2 separate regions of the Homo sapiens genome follow, and region 2 is linked to region 1. Evidence: promoter capture Hi-C in human tissues and cell types (Jung and others, 2019). All regions are on one chromosome and are shown on one strand. The core of a region is centred on a gene start or on the middle of the fragment in contact, and the rest is flanking DNA. Distances in the headings are between cores, read along the strand shown.

Region 1 (3,531 bases), core at 558-3,057:
CCCCATCGCCAATGTGCAGGCTCTGTGGTGCCCATAATTAAGATGCACCCATAAGAGAGTGTATAGCTTTACCCCTCCCGCATTCCTCAGAGGGGATGCCCTACCAGGGACTCGTTCTCCTCACCCATCTTTATGGTCCCAAAATGCACCCAGGGCCCCCCTCTCTCCTGGGGGGCCTGAATGCAATGAACTTTAAAGTGGATCATTGATCAACAGTCCCTTAACCCCACCAAAGTTTCCCAAGCCTCTCCCCTGCTCATCAGGGGGCTGGCCAGAGGTCACAGGGACTCCCTGGGGGTGGTTTTTATTCCCAGGAACAGGCTTCCTCAGTCCTGAAAGGGACATTTTTATAGCCCTGTGAACACAAATGCACTCCCCAGAATAGGCTCTGGGTGTGGAATCCCTCCTGTGGCTGTCATGGTCGCAGGCTGGTGATTACATTATACAGTGGTGTTGACAATAGAGCCCTAAGCCTGGCATGGACACCCCCTCACCTCCCTCCTGCCTCTCTGTAGGATCAAAGCTGCTCTGTGAGGCTGTGTGATCCTGGGCCAGGAGCGGGGAGTCAGCCTCAACCCTAAGCAAGGAGGAAGCATCTTTGCCTGAATCCTTCTGGGGGAGGCAATCCCCCTTCAGAAGTCCCTAGCCCAGGTTCGAAGGTCGGTAGGGACTGAGAGGTTGGCAGCGGATGGGGAGTGGCTAAACCAGAAAAAGGGGGCTTCCTGTTGATGGATTGATGGAGGAGGTCCAGGTCCACTGCCTGGTTCCCCGTCCCTCTCCCGCACCCCAGCCTGAGCTTCCCAAACTCCCACAGAAGCCCCCACCCCATGTGGGACACAGAGGACCTGCAGTAGCAGGAGGGCACAGCTAAGAGAGGAGACAAGAGGCAGCTTGGGGGCATGGGGGGGACCCCATTTCCCCAAATGTTGGAGCCGCCCTTAAGGGAACTTCCCCTGGACTCCTCTGGAGGTCTTGCCAGATGGGAGAACCAGGGGTCCATTCAGACCCCAGTCTCTTCTCTTCCCATCTCATCTCTCCACCTGGGGGGCTCAAAGAACCTAGCTCCTCCCCTTTGACCCCATCAGCTTCTCCCTCACCGAATCCTCTTACAATCCATTTCTTAATTCTGCCCCATCAACCCTCCCTGGTCATCACATAAACACCAGCAAGGGCAGTAGTTTAGGGACAGCTTTGCTCTGTATTCGAAGAAAGGTCTTTGGTCTGCTTAGAAATTAAGTTTGGAGCAGCCTGGGAGGAAATAGAAGAGATGAGACCCAGAGAATCAATGGCCACTGCCAAAGAGAGATAGGAGAGCCTTTCTGCGGCCACTGATTCAACAAACGGCATCACACGCCCCTCAGCCTCTCATCTCTTCGAGGCCATCTCCACCCCCACCCCCACCCCCACCCCAAGGCCATTCCAAGGTCCCATTCAAGACCACTGCGCAGGGGTGGCGCCAGAATGATCAAAGTCATCATGGGGCACTCATCTTTGTGTGGGTCAAGCACTTTGTGGTGTCGTGTCCCTGTTCCCAAACCAGGGACCAGGAGTAGGATGGGGGAGGGGCAGGGCGCCGCTGCTGAGTGGAGAGGACGCGGAGTGGGTGAGGGGGCCTTGCGCACAGGGCAAGAGGTGGCCAGGCAGGGCGGGGGACCGGGGAGAGCGGAGGATTTCAGATGAGGGACAGGGGAAGGTGGAGAGGGGAGGGCAGGCCCCGCCAGGGGGAGGAGCCGCCTCCCGCGTCCAGCTGTCGGGGCTCCCTCCCGTCGCGGCTCCGCTATAAAACCCAGGCCGGCAGGATCGCTGCACCCGCGGCGGCCTCCTCGGTGCGCGACCCCCGGCTCAGAGGACTCTTTGCTGTCCCGCAAGATGCGGATGCTGCTGGCGCTCCTGGCCCTCTCCGCGGCGCGGCCATCGGCCAGTGCAGGTGAGCTCCCGGGCTCCGGCCCCAGGTGCCCCTCGGCGGTCCCCTCCGTGCCCCCAGCTCCCGCCCCTGCAGAGGATCCCCCCGCGGGCGACCGGTGAGCGTCGGTGGCGCTGGGGTCCCGGGTTGCGTGTGCGCCGGGGGCCGCGAGGGTGCGGGAGGACTGGGCAGCGCGCGAGCTTGTGTGTGCACACGCGTGTCAGCACCGGCTGGGGGAGCGTGTGCACGGGTGTGCGCGGTGAGGGTGTGTGCGCGTGGCCCGGCGAGACGAGTTGGGAGTCCCTGATAAGGATGCGTCTCAGGCCGGGCGCGGGTGCTCCAGCCTGAAATGCCAGCACGTTGGGAGGCAGAGGCGGGTGGATCACCTGAGCCCAGGAGTTCGAGACCAGCATGGCCAACATGGTGAAATCCCATCTCTACCAAAAATACAAACATTAGCCGGACGTGGTGGCACACGCCTGTAATCCCAGCTACTCGGGAGGCTGAGGCCCGAGAATCGCTTGAACCCAGGAGGTGGAGGTTGCAGTGAGATCACGCCACTGCACTCCAGCCTGGTGCTCCGTTTAAAAAAAAAAAAAAAAAAAAAAAAAAAAAAAAAAAAGGATGCTTCTCGGACCCGCCTCAACGCACGCCTTCTTTTCTCACCCAGCCTCCTCCGTCTGCCCGTGGGTTTCCGTCCGTCCCGCTGGGACTCAGCGCTGGGTGACTGCCCCGCGGCCAGAGCAAGGGCGGTCTGGCAGGGTCCTGGAAGCCGCGCTTCCCACACGGGTTCCTTGCCCCTGAGGGTCGCAAGCTCCCCTGGCCTCCCTAACCTCCAGCGCTGAATTGGGAGCCTGGCGGGGGCGGGGGGTGGGGGACCCGGAGCCCCAAGGCCTCTGCGGAGCCGGTCTTTCCGGACAGGGTGATTTTCGTTTAAAGATTAATGGTGAAGCCGAGCTCTTAATTATTCCTCTAGGTGGGAGGTGGCAGGAAAGGCATGTTAATATTTGATAAGAAGCTAAAGGCGCTTCAAGCGGCTGGGCACAGGGATCCGATCCTGGAGGCACCTTCTTTGCAACCCCAGACCCCATCACCGGAAGACCCCCTCTGCCAGTTCTCAGCCCAACCACCCCTCGGATGGTTCTTGGGGTCCACGCAGGCTGAAACCTCCTCTCCCAAGTTAGGTGCTCCATCCTCAAAGCGGCGGAGTGAGGGGTGAAGGTGTCCTCTGCACAGAGAGGAGCCAGCGTGTGCCCTTTGCAGCAGGGACTGGCTGAGCTGTCTTAGAGGGTCGAGGGGCACCTTGCAGCCTCTCCACCGGGCCCCTGGGAGAAGAAAGAGAAAAAGCAGAATGTGGAAACTTTTATTTGTAGGGTTGGACATTGGAAACCTACTAAGCAGCTAGAAAGTAGAAAGAGAAATGCTTTGCAGTTCTGGTGCTTTGTAGCTGTGTGGTCTTGGGTAAGTCACTTCCTGTCCCATTTGCAAAACAGGTGTTGTCATTCTGACTTCAGGGGTTTTAAGCGTTTGAATAAGATAATGGGTTTAAGTGATTAGTGCGGTGCCTGTGTGGCACGTGGCTGGTGTGTCATATACCAAGTTTATGGGGCTCTCCCCCAAGCCTGGGG
Region 2 (3,251 bases), core at 592-3,091, 500 kb after region 1:
AACCTATTTATGAACCATAAAGTGTTTTAAGATGAGTATTGAAGGAAGCATCCGTATAATGTATAATTAGAACAAGTCTTATGAGACCTGGAAGAGTGAGACGATAGAAAACTTCACAAGACTGCATAGGAAGCTTCATGGAAGAGAGTGATATTTGAGCAAGAAAATTTGCAGGCTTAATCTAAGGCAGCAGTGGTTTTTGGAAAAAACACAAAGAAATACATGTAGGCCGGGCGCAGTGGCTCAAGCCTGTAATCCCAGCACTTTGGGAGGCCAAGGCAGGTGGATCACTTGAGGTCAGGAGTTCGAGACCGGCCTGGCCAACATGGTGAAACCCCATCTCTACTAAAAATACAAAAATCAGCCAGACGTGGTGACTCGCACCTGTAATCCCAGTTACTCAGGAGGCTGATGCAGGAGAATTGCTTGAACCCAGGAGGCAGAGGTTGCAGTGAGCTGAGATCGTGCCACTGCACTCCAGCCTGGTGACAGAGCGAGACTCCATCTCAAAACAACAACAACAACAACAACAACAAAAAACACAAATACATAAGTAGTAGAATTGACAGCTCTTATGTTTATAAGGAGGAAGAATATGATGACACCTAAATTTCTAACTCTGGTGACTAGTAAGCTGTTATAAAGAAGAGACATTATTTAGGGAGAGATGGGGGAGGTAATTAGTTCAGACATAGGCATGTTGAGTTGAGGTACCTGTGGTTCATCTAGATAGATATCTTCAGTAGGCAGTTATAAATATTTGAGAGAGAGGGGTGGCATGCTCCTATAGTCCCAGCTACTCAGGAGGCTGTGGGAGGATTGCTTAACCCCAGGAGTTCAAGGCTGTAGGGCTCTATGATTGTACTTGTTAATAGCCACTGCACTCCAGCCTGGACAACATAGTGAGACCCTCATCTCTTTAAAAATAAAAACTTGGGAGGGAAGCGTGGAAATACTAATTTAACAGTTAACAAGAGTTGCGTAAATTGTGGCAATATATGCACTTAGAGAGACTCTGTGGTTTAAGAGCACACAATATTAGGGGGACTCAAGTCAGCAGAATTCTAGTGAGCTGAGGGAAAAATATACAGGTAAGATAGTGGAAAATGGTTTATATAATTGTTTTCATAGAGCATTGATGGGAAGGGAAACAGGCACACTGAAAAAGTGAGAGGTAAGGGCTCAGTCAGCTGGTGTTTGGAGAGTGGAACCACATGCCGTAGGGAATGTGATAGATTCATGAATTAGAGATTAATGCTGCCTTTAATCAATTCTGAGGTGCATATTTTCTTTTAATATCTCTGAAATTGGAATACTTTTTACAAATGGTATATCACAGTTCAATTAACAGTGTTTTTGGTTTTTTTTTTTTTTTGAGATGTAATCTCGCTGTGTTGCCAGGCTGGAGTGCAGTGGCGCGATCTCAGCTCACTGCAACCTCTGCCTCCCAGGTTCAAGCGATTCCCCTGCCTCAGCCTCCCGAGTAGCTGGGACTACAGGCGCGCGCCACCATGCCTGGCTAATTTTTTTTATTTTAGTAGAGACGGGGTTTCACCACATTGGCCAGGATGATCTCCATCTCCTGACCTCATGATCCACCCACCTCGGCCTCCCAAAGTGCTGGGATTACAGGTGTGAACCACCATGCCAAGCCACCACGCCCAGCCGACAGTGTTTTTTATTTCGTTTGTGGCACATAAAATGATGCATCCATAACACAAGGCTCATGGTATTCTACATGAAGAAAACAATCTAAGTGATCCAGTCAGAGTTACAAAAAAGAATATCATAGTAAAACCCCTCAAAGTAGGAGGTTGAAAATAATAGAGCAGAAATTAATTATTTAGGGAGATTCACAAAACCCAGAAGGGCAGTCTTTTAAGAAGACACATAAGGCATGATTGATTGTTTCTAGTTCAAGAGAAAAGCACAAAAAAGTTTGAGTGGACATAACTACACTTAAAAATAGAGATTTTTAAAACACACTTTAAAAAATTCGAAGTATACTATACATATGACATTTACTATTTGTACTATTTGAAATTGTACAATTCAATAGTAAAAAATCCATTTATATTCTTTTTTTCCACCCTTCATCTCTCTCTCCCTACTACCCTTCCTGGCTTCTTGTAACCACAATTCTACTCTCTCTCTTTGTGAGATCTACTCTTTTAGCTGCCACATATGAGTGAGATCATGTCTTTCTGTGCTTGGATTATTTCATTTAGCATAATGTCCTCCAGTTCCATCCCTGTTGCTGCAAATGACAAGATTTCATTCTTTTCTATGGCCGAATACTATTTCATTGTGTATGTGTATATACACCACATTTTCTTTATCCATTCATGTATTAAATGGAATTGACGTAGGATGATTCCATATTTGGACTGTTGTGAATAGTGCTGCAATAAACATGGGAGTGCAGATATACCTTCAGTGTATTGATTTTCTTTCTGTTGGATATATGTATAGTAGTGGAATTGTTGGATCATATGGTAGTTTACTTCTGTTTTTTTTTTTTTTTTTTTTTTTTTGAGGAACCTTCATACTGTTCTTCGTAGTGGCTGCTCTAATTTACATTCCCACTAACACTGAGGGTTCCCCTTTCTGCACATCCTCACCAGCATCTGTAGTTGCCTATCTTTTTGATGCAAGTGGTTTTAACTGGAGTGAGATGATACCTCATTGTGGTTTTGATTTGCATTTCTCTGATGATTAGTGATGTTGAGCATTTTTTCATATATCTGTTAATCATTTGTATGTCTTTTGAGAAATGTGTATTTTAGATCTTTTGCCCATTTTAAAATTGGATTATTTGGGGCTTGTTTTGTTTTGTTGCTACTGATTTGAGCTCCTTACATGTTGTTAATTCCTTGTCAGATGGATAGTTTGCAGATGTTTTATCCCATTCTGTGGGTTCTCTCTTCACTTTGTTGATTGTTTCCTTTGCATTTTAGCTTGTATTTTCATTTGTCTATTTTTGCTTTGGTTGCCAGTGCTTTTGAGGTCTCATGCAAAAATTATTTGCCCAGAACAGTGTCCTGGAGCGTTTCTCCAATGTTGTTTTCTTCTAGTAGTTTCATAGTTTGTGAGATCAAAGTAGATCTCACAGAGGGAATAGAATTGTGGTTACCAATTCTACTAATTGAGATCTTAGATTTAAGTCATTAATCCATTTTGATTTGATTTTTGTGTGTGATGAGAGATAGGGGTATAGTTTCATTCTTCAGCATATAGTTATCCAGTTTTCC

Evidence for each region. The method cuts DNA at HindIII sites, captures the fragments that hold promoters and counts their contacts. A contact is called where the count stands out against the background at its distance.
Region 2: a fragment that was not itself captured here is called in contact with the fragment with the promoter of CA4 in region 1 in 1 of the 25 tissues and cell types used here (lymphoblastoid cells).

The regions. Positions count from the first base shown.
Region 1 is chr17:60,148,166-60,151,696 of GRCh38, forward strand. It overlaps CA4 (carbonic anhydrase 4), which reads left to right and starts at 1,808. Exons shown (of 8, transcript NM_000717.5): 1 at 1,808-1,927. The coding sequence starts at 1,870. The HindIII fragment of the contact is 35,208 bases long and covers 1-3,531 here.
Region 2 is chr17:60,650,042-60,653,292 of GRCh38, forward strand. The region is part of intron 4 of PPM1D (protein phosphatase, Mg2+/Mn2+ dependent 1D); the gene reads left to right. Among named protein-coding and RNA genes, the nearest start is that of BCAS3, 26 kb to the right of the region's middle. RefSeq lists a silencer at 2,511-2,560. The HindIII fragment of the contact is 7,187 bases long and covers 1-3,251 here.